Regions from separate parts of the Homo sapiens genome. Here region 2 is linked to region 1. Evidence: promoter capture Hi-C in human tissues and cell types (Jung and others, 2019). All regions are on one chromosome and are shown on one strand. Each heading gives the region's core, a stretch centred on a gene start or on the middle of the fragment in contact. The rest is flanking DNA. Distances are from core to core; before and after follow the strand shown. Region 1 overlaps LASP1 (LIM and SH3 protein 1). Region 2 holds the start of STAC2 (SH3 and cysteine rich domain 2).

Evidence for each region. The method cuts DNA at HindIII sites, captures the fragments that hold promoters and counts their contacts. A contact is called where the count stands out against the background at its distance.
Region 2: the fragment with the promoter of STAC2 here is called in contact with a fragment that was not itself captured in region 1 in 1 of the 25 tissues and cell types used here (spleen).

The regions. Positions count from the first base shown.
Region 1 is chr17:38,872,097-38,879,937 of GRCh38, reverse strand. LASP1 (LIM and SH3 protein 1) reads right to left here. Exons shown (of 7, transcript NM_006148.4): 2 at 1,758-1,852. Among named protein-coding and RNA genes, the nearest start is that of LASP1, 6.0 kb to the right of the region's middle. RefSeq lists an enhancer at 1-12 and a silencer at 2,104-2,183. The HindIII fragment of the contact is 5,439 bases long and covers 896-6,334 here.
Region 2 is chr17:39,221,504-39,229,344 of GRCh38, reverse strand. It overlaps STAC2 (SH3 and cysteine rich domain 2), which reads left to right and starts at 3,400. Exons shown (of 11, transcript NM_198993.5): 1 at 3,400-3,932. The coding sequence starts at 3,843. RefSeq lists an enhancer at 3,642-4,142 and a silencer at 5,805-5,974. The HindIII fragment of the contact is 22,351 bases long and covers 1-7,841 here.

The DNA of each region.
Region 1 (7,841 bases), core at 2,366-4,865:
CAACCCTTCCTTTACCCAGATAACCTGCCCAGTGCCCTCCTTCTTCCAGAAGGGACAACTTCATGTTGCTTCTTGGGCTTGAGATTTTTATCAGGAATCTGTTTTCCCAGCACCTGGTGCAGGTTAGTATGTATTATAGCAGCAGGCAGGCAATAAATGTCTGCTGAATGAGCGAGCCCCTAAAAAGATGAAAGAGTGGTCTTAGCCAGGGAACGGGAGGGGGTAAGGAAGCAAGGAAGGTTTGGGGTAAGGTTAGGGGTAAGGCTGGAGGTTTAAGCCCCCTTTTTAGACAAGTCCCAAATTTTTTTTTCCCTGGGTGAACTTCAGCTGCAAAGAGCCTCCTGACTGAGAATTAAGAGAAAAAAAAAAAAAACTGGACTCAAGTCAGATCCTAAATTCATGTGAACACTGAAATTACCATTACTTGAGTTGGTTGAAGTTAAAAAAAAAAAAGTTAAAATTAAAAAAAAAATCGAATTAAGGCTGGGCGAGGTGGCTTATACCTGTAATCCCAGCACTTTGGGAGGCTGAGGCGGTGCATCACTTGAGGTCAGGAGTTCGAGACCAGCCTGGCCAACACGGTGAAACCCCGGTCTCTACTAAAAAATACAAAAATTAGCTGGGCATGGTAGCATGCATCTGTAATCCCAGCTACTCAGGAGGCTTAGGTACAAGAATCGCTTGAATCCAAGAGGCGGAGGTTGCAGTGAGCCAAGATCGCGCCACTGCACTCCAACCTGGGTGATGAGTCCTCTGACTCAAAAAAAAAAAAAAAAGCAAATTAAAAGAAAAAGAAATTATCATTACATCATTACTTATAAGTGACTTGACCTTCCAAAGCCTCCACCTCGCAGGTGGAGGCGGCTGTGAGGCCCCAACACTGAGTTTGTACTTGCTACTCACAAGGTCAATTGGAAGATGGAAAATTGCTGTACTTTCTGGGATTGCATGGGATGGGATGGGATGGGATGGGAGGGGAGGTATTCCTCCAGGCTCTGGGATGGGGGACCCCACCTCTATACTCCCTCCCTACCGTCAGCTGCTGCAGGTCCCAGTGCAGAAGGAACAGAGCTGCACTATACTCAAGATGACTATACTCAAAAGAAACAGTCTCCACAGCCTCCCTCACCAGGCAGGGAAGAGATCTATCTGGCCCAGGCAACACCCTTTATGCACCCCTGCCCATTCTCAAAAAATGAACACCAAAAGGGCTGGCATGAGGCTTCCAGAGAGTTTTCTTGAAGGAACCACTGGAGGAAGGAGCCCCCAAAGCCTAGAAGTACCCAGGTGAGAGAAGGAAACTGTCGATTTTGAGGAGAGAAATAAGGGAAGGTAAACAGAACAAAGTCCTCAACCCCAAATACAACAGACACGTCACTCATTCTTGAAAGACCACGAGGAAAGCCCCCTCTTTTGTAGCAGGGGACAGTGGAAAGAAACGTGCTCGCCTTACTGCCCGAAATTGGGTTAGAGCCTGTCTTGCCCTAGCCATCCCACCTTGAGAGTCTCTTCCCTTCCCTAAGCCCCAGTTTCCTCATCTGTACTTTAAATGCACTTTAAATGGGGGATAAAAGCACTTTAAATGGGGATAAAAAGTGCTTGCTTCATTCAGCTGTTGTGAGGACAAACTGTGATGTTCAAGTAGGGGATGGAAGTGTTCGCCAATGTCACCTTGCGGTTATTGGAAGGAAAGGAAGAACTCACTCGGGGAGGGAGCCAAGGTGCCCACCCAGCCCCCTGCCCAGAACAGGACTCACGCGTTGCAGTAGGGCTTCTTCTCGTAGCCCTTGTAGTTCTTCATGTTCAGTGTCATCTTGCAGGTCTCGCAATGGAAGCATGCTTTATGCCAGAACTGGGGATGGAGACAGGAGGACATACATCAGATACCAGGACTTCTGAAAAAGGGGCTCAGGCCCTAGGAAGGGGCACTCAGGAGCTGCTGGGACTGTCCTAGGCCCATGGCTGTGGGGAGAACATGGAATCATCCCAGGTGAGCTGGGGGCATTTCAGGTCACAGGCTTTGGCACTCCCCTCCCCTCTCTCCTTCCTCATCCTCCACCAATGGGCCATTTGAACCCAGGAGGAAGAGACAGGCAGGCATGAAGGACAGGGGGGAAGAGCCCAGTTATAGCAGTGGCAGCAGCCCCCAAGTCAGCTCCACCCTCCCCAGGGAACCCCTCCTGCCCAGAGCTGGCGAGGCCTCATTGCTTATGCAAAGCTGCGCTGGGTTGCTAGGGAGCAGCCGCTGAACATGAAGGAGCAGCTCCTCTGGTGGCACCAAGGCCTCAGAAGAGGAAGGCCCAGCCCCCACACACCCAGGCCCAGAACCCAGGTGCTCCTAGCTCCTGTACCAGGGCCCAGCACACCCACCAGCCCCACATGAGCCCCAGGTGGTGCTACAGCTCCGATACCTCCCACTTCCTGTGGGATGCCTGGCCAGAGGAGTGGGCTGGGTGTCCCAGGCTCTGTCAACACAACACATCCTTTCTACCCTTCCCTCATCCTCTCCCACCCCAGGAGGAGGGCAGGAGAGCACCCGGCAGCGGGTCTCCCACTGAGGCACTGAAGGGCTCTACTTCAAAGCCTTGAAGGTGGACACCCCTATAGTGGACATCAAAGCTCTACCCCACTAACTGTATGGCCTTGGGCGGGGCCCTGCACCTCAGAGGAGCCCACTTCCTGGTGTGTACAATGGATGTAATAACACCTGGCCCTCCTGGGATTGTCCAGGACTGAGGAGAAATCACCTTCAAAGCCCTCAGCACAGCACTTGGCACCTCTGAGCACTCAGATGTCAGGTGCTGGGCACAGCAGGTGTGAACCTTAGCCGAGGGGGTCAGGGCTCACACTGGAGATTGTGTGTGTTGGGGTGCAGAGGGGCTTCACTGTGCCAACCACAGCTCCAATCCATTCATGCGTGTGAGAATGTGGGACACGGCCGGGCACGGTGGCTCACGCCTGTAATCCCGCACTTTGGGAGGCCGAGGCGGGCGGATCATGAGGTCAAGAGATCGAGACCATCCTGGCTAACATGGTGAAACCCCATCTCTACTAAAAAGACAAAAAAATTAGCCAGGCGTGGTGGCGGGTGCCTGTAGTCCCAGCTACTTGGGAGGCTGAGGCAGGAGAATGGCGTGAACCCAGGCCACTGCACTCCAGTCTGGGTGACAGAGCAAGACTCCGTCTCAAAAAAAAAAAAGAGAATGTGGGACACAGGGCCCATCCAGGGTGGCCGACGGAGGGAAGAGAGTGATGACAGAAAGAGAACAGATCTAGCCGGGAGCGGTGGCTCACGCCTATAATCCGAGCACTTCGGGAGGCTGTGGCAGGCGGATTACTGGAGGTTGGGAGTTCAAGACCAGCCTGGCCAACATGGTGAAACCCCGTATCTACTAAAAATACAAAAAAATTAGCCGGGTGCAGTGACGGCGTGCCTGTAATCCCAGCTACTCGGGAGGCTGAGGCAGGAGAATCGCTTGAACCCAGGAGGCAGAGATTGCGGTGAGCTGAGATCATGCCACTGCACTCCAGCCTGGGGTATAGAGCGAGACTTAATCTCAAAAATAAATAAATAAATAAATAAATAAATAAATAGGCCGGGTATGGTGGCGCATGCCTGTAATTCCAGCTACTTGGGAGGCTGAGGCAAAAGAATCACTTAAACCCAGGAGGTGGAGGTTGCAGTGAGCCAAGATTGTGCCACTGCACTCCAGCCTGGGTGACAGAGCAAGACTCTGTCTCAAAAAAAAAAAAAAAAAAAAGAGAAACGATCTAACAGGCTCCACGTGGCAGCCTGGAGGGGTCTTTGTGGAACCCCTGAGAAGTATTGATGCTTAGGCAAACCCATGACAACAGGATCTAAATTCACCCCCAGAAGCCCAGGATGATGTGCTGGATCACCACCAAACAGGGGTCCACTGCCAGGACCCCAGAATAATCCAGGCCACCTGAGTGACCTGGCTGGCCTGTCCCTGCCCCATTTCCCAGTAGTCAAGGGAGACATTCCCCATTCCAAAAGAAGGAGGCCAGGAGGCAGGCCCAGGGGGACTTTTGAAGGAGCCCAGCCACAGAGCTGGTTCTTGGCCATTTGTCAAGGAATTCCCCCAAGGCGATGCTTTTCAAAATGTTGTCTCCAAACCCCCGGAGGGAGAGGTGCTTCTGAGACACTGGGAGGAGGGGATAGCAGAAAGAAGGCTGAGAATCTGGGATTCAACCTCCCTACCATGGCCCACTTCAACCAGAGACCCCCAGGGTAATTTCAGGGGGAAATCACCTTCTAATAGGGTACTGGTTCCCTATCAAGAAGACCCAAAGGAAAAACCTAATGGTGGAATATTAAACAGAATGCTAGGAGAACCACTCTTGGGGAGGACGGCCAGCCGGAAGTCTGGAAGCAAAGAAGTGGCGGGTCTAAGCTTGGCCCCCTCCCCAACCTGGGCCTATCCCAGTGACCCAGGGCCCCCAAACTCCTATGAGGCAACTTAAAGACTCCTTCTGGTGCATAACCCAATAGACAGAACCCACCGGGACACTAAGACAGACTGGTCCCTGCCCCCACAGGCCCCTGAAGTGGTGCATACCCCAACACACAGAACCCACCAGGGACACTAAGACAGGCTGGTCCCTGCCCCCACAGGCCCCTGAAGTGACAGCCCCACTCCCTCCCCGAGTAACTGGGAGGCATTGGCAGGGTGCCCCAGCCTGGTCACCACCCAGTCTGCTGGCCTCTGCCTACTTAGCTGCACAGGCCCCTGCCTAGGCCCCTGCCTGGGCCCCTGCCTCCCCCTACCCCCACAGGGGCCTGCCAGGAAAAACATTCTCCAGAATCCAGACCATGACCCACTTTCTCACACACACACACACACACACACACACACACACGAAGGGCTACACACTGTCCTAGGACCACGGACCTCCAAGGCTGCCTCCTGATTGACGTTGGGGAGACAAAGGGAGAGAGACCCCTACTCCAGATGGCCAGGCCTGCACCCGGAGCCAAGCCCCTTGGAGAAGGAGGGTGGGGTGTACTGAGCAGGCAGGGGGCACAGGGCCAACACTGGACCCAGTGGTTCCAAAGACCCCTCCAGGCTGCCACGCGGAGGAAGCAGAGCCCCTCTTCTAGGGGATGGCACCTATTTCTATCAGTAGCTCCTTCCCACCTCCCTCACAGGCCCCACACTCTCATCCAGACACCCAAGGGTGGGGCAGAGGAGGGTGGTCGCCTGTCCCCCTGCAGGGGGCTCTGAGCAGAAACATGGAAACCAGTTACTATGAAGCACAAGTGTCAAGTGGAGCTGCAGCCACTGTCTCCCAGAGTGCTGGAAGGTCAGGAGAGGAGGCCGTTCCACCCCTAATGCTTGGCACCTCCAGCAGCTTCAGGCGACTCCCCTACCCTCTCTGGAGGAAGGCCCCAAGGTTCAAGAAAACCCACCAGCTCCTTCCACTGTGTCCTTTTTGGGGTAGGAAAATTGTGGGGAGGGGAGGCAGAAAATGGCCAGTCCCTCCACAACCGCTGTGAGCCAAGCCTGGACCCTAAGATGAAAGAACTCCTGCCTTGTCTCAATGGGGTCTGGGGAAGGACACTGTCAGGGAAATATGTCCAGAGGACCCCACAGTGACCCCGTCTGCCTCTGCCCTGCCCCATGGGCTCTGTCCCAGAGCAAGAGCCCCCCTCTTTTAAAGGCCCCAGGCAAGATGATTTCAGCGAAGCATTCCTGGGCCTCAGGACTCAAGGAAACTGCACCTCGAGGCATGCACCTCTGCCCCTTCCTGCTGCCTGCAAAGTCCATGGCTTCCCTGTTCACAGAAACCAGACAGACCCTACCTCTGCTGCCTGTTAGAGGCCTCTCAGCCTGGATCCGAGGCTCCAAGGCAGGGTCATCTTGATCTTCCCTTGCCTACCTGCAACCCACTCTAAAGAAAGGTAAACAGGCTGGTAGGGGCAGAAGCCTGCAAGGATACCCCTCACTTGGGACAGCCTGTCCCTCTGTGGCTCTGGGTTGGGGGGGATGTGGCAAGCTTCGTGTCACTGTGCCTGCAGCCTGGCACCTTGGCCTCTGAACCCAGGCTACCTGGGGTGGCCATGACTCAGGGATGGATTATGAGACCATCTCTTCCCTTCCTGTTGCCCAGGGTTACAGTTTCTCCCTCCTGCAGAGGCAATGCCAGCCCCACCCTGGCCGGGGCACCAGCCTAGCTTGGTTGGCCACCTGACCCGCTGGCTTAAAGGCATAGATCTTTGCTGCACCTCCACAAATTCCGAGGAGGACAGGATTATTCCCAGTGGCCCCACGCCCCCATACAAGACCCCAGGCCCAGAGCATTCCTCCAGATAGGGTCAGGAAGGGATGGGACCTACTTTTGGCACAAATGAGATGTAAATAAAATATAAATATGTATAAATAAAAGTACTTTCTGCAAACACACTGGCAGAAGAGCTGAGCAGAAAGAACTGTGGATGTGAATTTCAGCTCTAAGAGAGGGAGATGAGCCACATGGGCTACCTGAGCCTCCATTTATGGAGTGCATCGTTTACAAGAGCGAATACACCTACTTTGTGAGGCTGCTGTGAAGACTGAGCCCAGCATATCGTGATAACTAGTAGCTATTATGAAGGGATGGTCACAAGATGATGGTGGGGTACTCTAAGCTTCAGCTAGCAAAACGGGGCACCACAGCTGTGAGGACTTCAACCCCCTCGAGTGGGGAGGGAGCGCTGAGACAAGCAGAGGCAGAGAGCCCACCCTAACAGGGGATTCCAGGGGAACTGGCAGCAGACCAATCCTCTACCTCCACCTGTTTTCAGAAACCTGGGGAAGCAAGCCAGGAAAGAGGGACGTGGCGAGGTTCTTGACAACACAGCTCCCTAGATACAAAGCAGGTGCACAAAGTAGGTGCTCAATAAATATTTGTTGAATGAGCAAATGAGGTCACCCTGTTTCTCCCCCAGCTCTAATCCCAGAAGTCCTCTGGAGAAGCAAATCTCGACCTCCTTCCTCAAACACTGTCATCAGCAATACATATTTATCCAGCTTGCAAAGCATGCTGGGTACTGCAGGTTGGGGGCAGGGTGGCCTTCAGAGGTGACAAGGTTTTTACCCACCTATGCCTTTGGGAGATAAGGCTCAGGGAGGAGAAAAGGCTGAAACCAAGGACACACCCTGTGCTTTGGGCCACGTAGTGGGCTGAGTACCATGGGGGATTGTAGAGAAACGGGTGAGTCTAATTTGACTCTTTTGCTGTAAATGGGAGGCCTTGGGAAGTTGGTTAGCAACTATGGGACTGAAGCTGCCTATGGGACTGAAGGTTTCCCCTCCTCCCTGGTCACAGCCCAGCATCCTCCAGGCACTGGCTCCCCATTCCTGGTCCTATCCTTACTGCCTGGAGCAGGTGGAGAGGAATAGGTCTGATACCTGGATATTTCAGGTCTCCTGCTCAGTACAGGGGGCGAGGTCTCTCCAGGGCCACTTCCTATAGGGAGAGTTCTAAAAAGAGGAAGGAATCACCAACTCCCACTTCCCTGGGCAACCCCCACTTGAACGTCCTCTTCCAGCTAGGGTAAGAGAACTGGGGAGGGCACCCTGCCCATCCCTGCTCCCCTCCCCTCGGGTACACGGCACTGAAGGTCTTTCCAAGGGGAGTGGTGTGGAGCTGAACAGAGCATCCCAGAGAGGTAGGGAGGGCATAGTCTATACAGCACCCTCTTTAGCACTCAGGGACTTTAGTGCACTGCCCCACCTTTAAGGAAATGACATCATCATACCCATCTGACAGATGGTGAATACTGAGGCCTAGAGACATTCATAAAACTGGTGGGAGCAGACCTGGAACAAGGACCCAGT
Region 2 (7,841 bases), core at 2,151-4,650, 350 kb before region 1:
CCAGACTAGATGAGCCCCACAGTCCTCCAACTTCCCTGGCTTTCCTCGGTTGCCAGAACTACGGGTTCCCCTGGGAATTCTTCTCTGTATCTAGTTAGCATCTCTTTGTCCAGGAATCACCACTTCTGGGTTGGTTACCCCACAGAATACCAGGCTCCAAATGGCCAAGGAAAGTGAGAGAAGGAAGCGGTTTTCTTCTCTCTGCCTCAGAGAAAGCACTGGGAAGGGACAAATTTCCCAGAAGAAAGGAGGGAAAGAAAAATAATGGCCGGGCACGGTGGCTCACGCCTGTAATCCCAGCACTCTGGGAGGCTGAGGCGGTCAGATCATGAGGTCAGGAGATCAAGACCATCCTGACTAACACGGTGAAACCCCGTCTGTACTAAAAATATAAAAATTTAGCCGGGCGTGGTGGCAGGCGCCTGTAGTACCAGCTACTTGGGAGGCTGAGGCAGGAGAATGGCGTGAACCCGGGAGGCGGAGCTTGCAGTGAGCCGAGATTGCACCACTGCACTCCAGCCTGGGCGACAGAGCGAGACTCCGTCTCAAAAAAAAAAAAAAGAAAAATAATGGACTTTCCTTGACTAGACGTGGTGGCGTGTGCCTGTAATCCCAGCACTTTATCGGGGAGGCCAAGTCAGGAAGATGGCTTGAGGTCAGGAGTTCAAAATGAGGCTGGGCCAACAAAGTGAGACCCCCATCCCTACCAAAATAAACACTTTTTTTTTTAAAATAAATTTTCCTGTCTTGTCTTCCTGTCTTGTCTGGGCTAAGTGCCACTCTACACTATCTCATTCATTCTAGCAGTGGGGTAGGCACGATGACTATTTTTCAGATGAAGAAACCAAGGCTATAGGCCAGACACGGTGGCTCATGCCTGTAATCCCAGCACTTTGGGAGGGTGAGGCAGGTGGATCACCTGAGGTCAGGAGTTCCAGACCAGCCTGGCCAACATGGTGAAACCTCTCTCTACTAAAAATACAAAAAATTAGCTGGATGTAGTGGCGGGCACCTGTAATCCCACCTACTCGGGAGACTGAGGCATGAGAATCGCTTGAACCAGGAGGCGGAGGTTGTGGTAAGCCGAGGTCCTGCTATTGCACTCCAACTTGGGCAACAAAAGCTAGACTCCGTCTCAAAACAAACAAAATCTCTAAAAGATTGAGTTATCTGCCCAAGGTCACACACTTAATTAGTGACCAAAGAGGTACTGGCCCCTAAGGAACCCAAAGCCCCTGCTCTTTGGGAGGAGACAGGGGCACCTCCCCCAGAAGATCTCCAAACTCAGAAGAAGGCCCTGTGTGTTCCAGCCCAGGATAAGTGGAGGGCCTGATGTTGCTGTCTCAATGCTGCAAGCATCCCAGCATCTGAGCTGCCCAGGGAGGGAAGGCTGGACTGGCCTGGGCTGGGCAGGAGTGAGAAGGACAGTCCAGTGGGAGATGGGGGAAGGTTGGCCATGAACAGGCCTTTGGGGAGACTGATTTGATGGCACTCAGGCTCCATCCCACCTTCCTCAGGAAATCTCGAAGTCAGAGCCCCTACAACCATGAACCCTCACTGTGCCCTTGTCCTACTTCTGCCACTGGCAAATAAATCTCTATTCCTGGACAGGGTAACCTGAGCAGGGCTCCAATGGTGAGCTCGTGCTTGGGAGGGCAGAGATCCTATGAATGGCTGTGTGCATGGGGGGAGGTGAGTGGGGGGTGGAGGTGTTCACCCCACCCCTCAACTTTCAGGCTAGCATAAGGGCCCCCTTCAGCACCTCAGGCCCCCCATGTGGCACCCCCCACCCACAATCTTACCACCCACAGCAGAGGAGGAGGGAGACTTAAACCCAGAAGTCTCTCCACCCACACCAGGGAAAGGTTCTCTCAGCCACCAGTGCATCTCCCTTTTCTTGGGCAGACCAAGAGAGGAAGCCAGATCTGCTGGTCAGAGCCAGAAGGGGCAGAAGGAAAGAGGGCTGGAGGTGAGGGAGGGGGACCTGAGAAAATGGGTCCCAGATAATCAACATGCATTAGAAGAGGTATCTTGGTCAGGTGTGGTGGTTCACACCTGTAATCCCAGCACTTTGGGAGGCTGAGGCAGGAGGGTCACTTGAGCCTAGGAGTTTAAGACTAGCCTGGGCAACATAGCGAGACTCCATCTCTACAAAAAATTTTAAAATTAGCTGGGTGCAGTGGCATGTGCCTGTGGTCCCAGCTACTTGGGAGGGTTGAGCCCAGGAGGTCCAGGCTACAGTGAGGTGTGATCAAGCCACTGCACTACAGCCTGGCCAATAGAGCAAGATCCTGTCTCCAAAAAAAAAAAAAAAAAAAAAAAAAAAAAAAGAAGAAGAAGAGAAGGAGAAGAAGAAATATTGGAAATATCTTGAACGGGCACAGTGGCTCACGCCTGTAATCCCAATACGTTGGGAGGCCAAAGTGAGAAGATCGCTTGAGCCCAGGAGTTGGAGATCATCCTGTGTAACATAGCAAGACTTGTCTCTACCAATAAATTTTAAAAATTAGCCAGGCATGGTGGCGTATGCCTGTGGTCCCAGCAACTAGAGAGGCTGAGGTGGGAGGATTGCTTGAGCCTAGGAGTTTGAGACTGCAGTGAGTTATGATCGCACCACTGCACTCCAGCCTGGGTGAAAGAGTGAAACCCTGTCTCTAAATAAAAAAATAAAAAAATAAAAAATAGAAGGTTATTGTGGAGAGAGGGGCACCTTGGAAGGTGATGGTGAGGACCTCTTCCCCCACCTCTCTGTATTATCCCCTGATCTAACTCCAGTTGTGGTAGGATCTTTAGGAGGGGAGCGTGTCTCAGAGAAGTTTGGGGACTTTGGGTGTGAGGACTGAGCCCCCATCTCTGCTGAAGTTCAGACGCCAAGACTGGAAGGGGATAGAGTCATCCGGCTTTCCATCACAAGGAGGAATTGTCCGGCCTGGCCTTTGACACATACACCATAGTCCAGTTGTGTGTATATTTGGAGAGAGCCTTTTCAGGGTATAAAGGCATCCAATTAATGGCACAGATGGGTCCCCATTCTTCCTTCACCAACCTCTGGCATCTATCAATCTTCGCTCTTTGGAAGTCCTAGCTTCGATCTCACTCTCCGCTATCTTGCTGCGGCCCCAACCTATTTCTATTCCCTGCAACCCATCCAGACGCTACTATGATCTCCCCAAGCTTCCCTCAATCTGGTCACGCCCCTCCATCCCGGGTTTTTCAGTGTGAAACTCCCTCCTCCGCTTCTTTCCCCGCCAAGCCCCGCCCCATCGTGTCGAGCCCCCCAAGACTCCGCCCAGTTCGCCCTCCTGGCCACCGAGGCAGCCAATAGCTGAGAGCCTGATTTGCAGGGCTGCGCGGGGGAGCGGCGTAGGGCAGGGGGCGGGACCAGGCGACCTCCTAAATCAAAGTTGGGCGGCGAGGACTGGGCGGAGGGGCCGCCGGGTGCCGGGCTGGGGCCGGCGGGGGAGGGGAGGGGATGGGGGGCGGGCGCAGCGGACGGCGGAGCCGGCTGGACACGGACAGCTCCTTGGCTCCCTCCCTCGGCTCATCCCCGCGGCCCCACTTCCCTCCTCCCCGCGCTGCGAGCAGCATCCTCTGCAGACCCTCGGTCCTCGCGCCCGGGGTCGTCCCGCTCCTGCGGCTCAGCGTGGTGGCCTCCCCTCGCCCGCCACCCCGGCAACTTTCTCTGCCCGCTCCCGCGGGTTGGGGGCTGCCGTGCCGGGGGCTAACTGGGGGCAGCCTCTGGAGAACGGCTTCAGAGTCCCGGAGACGCCCGCCACCCGCAGCCTGCCCGCGGTGGGCCTGCCGTCGGATCTCGGCACCCTCTCCTCCCCTCTCCCCGAACCATGACCGAGATGAGCGAGAAGGAGAACGAACCGGATGACGCGGCCACCCACAGCCCCCCAGGGACCGTCTCCGCCCTCCAGGAAACCAAGGTAACTTGGGGGGCGCAAGGCCTGTCCGCGCCCCGGGCCCGGGCGCCCTCTTCCCGGCGGGGTCCTCCTGTGGGCCCGGGCGTCCTAGGGTCGCGGTCGCGAGGCCCGCGTGACCACTGAGGCTCCGCGCCGCTCCCGGGGGTAGGAGTGGGTTGGCGACGAGGGGCCACAAGGAGCCCCCGATCACACCGGCACCGCACGCCCGCGCGCGCCATCGCGACCTTCTGGGGAGGCGGCCACTGGTCTTCGTTGGAGAGATGGGCGCAGCGAGGCCGGAGGGCGCGCGTGGAGCGGTGCGGGCGGGGTACGCGCCCGGCTGTGCGTGCGAGGCGCACCCTCCAGCGGCCGCCGGGTCCCAGTCCCGGGCTCAGTCCGCGCCTCTATCCTCGCTCGTGTCTCTGAATTTGTCTCTACAACCTGCGTGTCTGTGTCTTGGTGTCTCTGTGTGCGTCTCTCCCCGTCTCTCCCGGCGTCTCCGGGTGTTTATCTCCGCGTCTCAGGGCGTCTCTCCCTGCCCCTCCGCAGTCCTGCATTCCCCGCTCCTAGCCCTGTTGGGCTCGGGGACGCGAGGCCGCGGCCGGGGGTGCGCAGCTGCGGAGTCCGCGAGGGGGCCTGCAGCAGCGCCGGCCGTCGGTCACGGGCGAGGACGGGGGCCTGCGGTTGTGGCTCCAGACCAGAAAGACAGGCAGCCCCGCGCCCCACCACGGGAGCGGGACCAGAGGAGGGGGAGCGGGTAGAAGCAAAAAGAGAAGTCATCGTAATTAATGAATGTCATCATTAACCCTAATTATGGATGATTGTTACTCCTGAGGGAGTCACCATGAATAAATTACTCCCCGCGAAGGCAGGCGGAGCCCAGACTCCTGGCGCTGAAAGGGGTGTGGGGAGGCCGCCGCTCACACTCAGCACTCCCCCGACCTCTAATCCGTCTGCTCCCTTCCCAAGTTCTAGGTGCTGGCGACTGGCCCGCGAGAAGTTCTGTTTCTGCGGGATCAACCTGAGCGGGCCTGGGGTTGGGATAGAAAGGGCTGTGCCAAGGGCGCGCCCTGCCACCTCCCAGACTTCAGGCCAAGACCTCCTCCCTCCCCCTTCACCCGGTATTTTGTTCCCATCCTGCTCCTGTTCTCCAGAGGCGAAAGGGGACAGTGAGGACCAGAAATGATGGGAGCCTGGGCTCCGGAGGCGTCCTGGGTTCGCTAGGCTTCTTTCCACTGTCCCCCTTCCTCCTTCTTCCATCTTGACCATCCCGCAGGAGCTGAGGTTAATTCAAGGTCAAGGTCATCAAGGGAGTGACCGGAGGAGGAGGCCGTAGGGTCAGGGTGGAGTCTGGCAGAGGCACCCCAGGGAGCCCCCATCCTGCACCAGGGGACCCAGCAGGTCTCCACATTCAAGTCTTCACATGCACACCTGACTCTCTCTTGCCCCCTTCTAAAAATGAGACTCTGGTCTGTGAGGCCAGAGCTGACTCCCCTTTAGAGAGCCAAGTCTCAGTCTCTCCTGGGAAAGGACTAAGATGTTTGGGTGGGAGGATATTGCTTGGAATATTTGTGACAACTTCTGTCAAGCAGAAGGTCTAGGAGCTGAACCTCCCCTGAGTTCCAATGCCCCTGATTTCGGTTGCCCTCTAGTCACCTGGGTAGACATACACAGTCCCCCTGCTTGCCTCCAGGGGCTTGGGGGCCTCCCAGGCCCTGCCCTGTTTCCCACACCAAGGCCTGTCCTCTCCAGCCTCCTCCTATGTGGGAGTGCTGGAAGGCGGGCAGGAGTGTGGGGTAGTGCTGCCTCAGTACTCCAGCAAGCTGCCTGCTCAGCTGTGTGGGGAGGGAAGGTCAAGGGCCACAGGTCTGTACCTCTCCCTCTTCCCAGGCCAGGGACCCTCCAATGTTGTCACCTCTGGGTCTGAGCTTGGAGATTCAAGGAGTAGGGGAGGGGAGGGGTTACACCCCTGATCCGGCCCTTCTGTGTCAGGCCAGCTGGAGCCCCGGCCCTCCGCCCCTCCCCTATACATCACTCTTGTGAAGGATTCTGCACTAACACAGACTGGGCTGTGGGTTGGGTCGGGGGTATTCAGCAGGGCAGAGGTGGGCAGAGAGAGAACTCAGGACCCCTGCTAGCCTCCTTCCATCCTGCACCTCAACCTGGCCCAAAGAAGCTCCTGTCTCCAGACTGTGGGTGGAGATGGAAGAGTACAGTTGGGTGCCGCCCACCAAGCTCAGTGTGAGGCAGGTACAACAGAGGGGGCCAATGCCCTTCAGGCAGTGATGCCAACATTCCAGGCTTATTCATCAGTGTTGGTGCCCCCTGGGAATCACTGGCCAGCCTCCTGCTTGCCCCCAGGCTGAATCAGCCCTGCACCCAAGCCACCCAGCAACCTTCCTAGCGAGTCCTCCTCCTCTCTTGGTCTCCTTCCCTTCTTATCACATAAGGCCTGCCCATCACCCTTTGTTGCCACCCCTGGGAGGACCACCCCATGCCATCTCTGCTGTGAGTCAGCTTGTGCCACGTCTGCCACCACCCACTGCCAGATGCCTCATGCCCTTTCAGGAGACGCCGTGGGGAATTGAGGAAATAAGGGGCCGTCCAGGATATGGGGAGGTGGGGAGGAAACAGGCAGGCCAGGCCCTGTCTCTGGGAGGGGATTCAGAAGAACAGACTTTGTGGTCCAGGCTCCTAGCTGGACAAACTCTGGATGCGTTGGGAGGGAAGAGTGACCAGGCAGGCCCACTTGCCAAGGTACATGGCAGCTTCTCCCCATGCCAGAGAATGGGTCCCAGGGAAGTGAGGGCACCAAAAGTATAGTGGGGAGAAGAGATGGGCAAAGGTCCTCTCCAGGAATGAGGAGCCCCAGGAGCCGGAATACCTGGCCTGGCTGAGCCAAAATGTGGTTTGGGTAGCCAAGCCCGATGTCTCTGAAGTGGTCAGGCATCAAGTCATTTGGCAGAGATGCCCCAACCCAGACCTGTAGCCACAGTCTGATCTCTGCCAGCCACCCCAGGTGGCATGTCATTCCTTCTCGCTTCTCCACCCCCCTGGGATCTGGGGCCCACAGCCAAGCCAGGGAGTCGGCCGGCAGAGTCGGGGCTGCCCTGGTACCCGGGAACATTCTGTTCCAGAGGCCTCCGGTACCTAGCAGAGGTGGCTCTTGGCACTGAGACCAAGGGGTACCAGGAAAGGACACAGCCTGGAGGGTAGGGAGACTTGGAACCTCCTCCTATGAGGATTACTATGGAAACAAGGGCCTGGGGATGGGGGGAACATGACTGATGGTGTCTTCAAATATTTGAAGGGCTGAAGTGTATGAGAGGGAGTAGCCCTTTCTGGAGCCAAGGGAGGAAGGAGGGCTGATAGGCGAAAATCCCAGGGAGGCAGGTTTCAGCTCTATATGGGGAAGCACTTTGCAGCCATTGGAGCTGCCCAAAGATGGAATGACTGTCCCAAGAGACTGCTTGCTTCCCATCACAAGAGGTGACCAACTCTTGAGACGGGATGTGGCCAGGCCATCGCAGGGTGATGAGTTGGGGACTGCTCTAGGTGGCCAGTCTTCCAGGTCCCTTCTCACCCTAAACTCTCTGATTGACCTTGTGGACAAGCCCCTGGCCCAGCTGAGAGGTGAGGGTGATGGCCCAGGCAGGGCCCAGCTGAGAGGCGAGGGTGAGGCCCAGGCAGGGCCCAGCTGAGAGGCGAGGGTGAGGCCCATGCAGGGCTCAGCACAGCAGGATGCTCCTGGTGCTTTGGGCTCAGCAGCCGAAGCCGCTGGTTCAAGTCCTGGCTCTGCTGTTTACCAGCTGAGGACTCCTGGGTAAGTGATTTAACCCTTATAAGCCTCAGTTCCTCATCTGAAAAGTGGGACAGTAATTATCACTACTTCCAAGGGCAGCATCAGGATTAATGAGATGCTGCATATAAAGT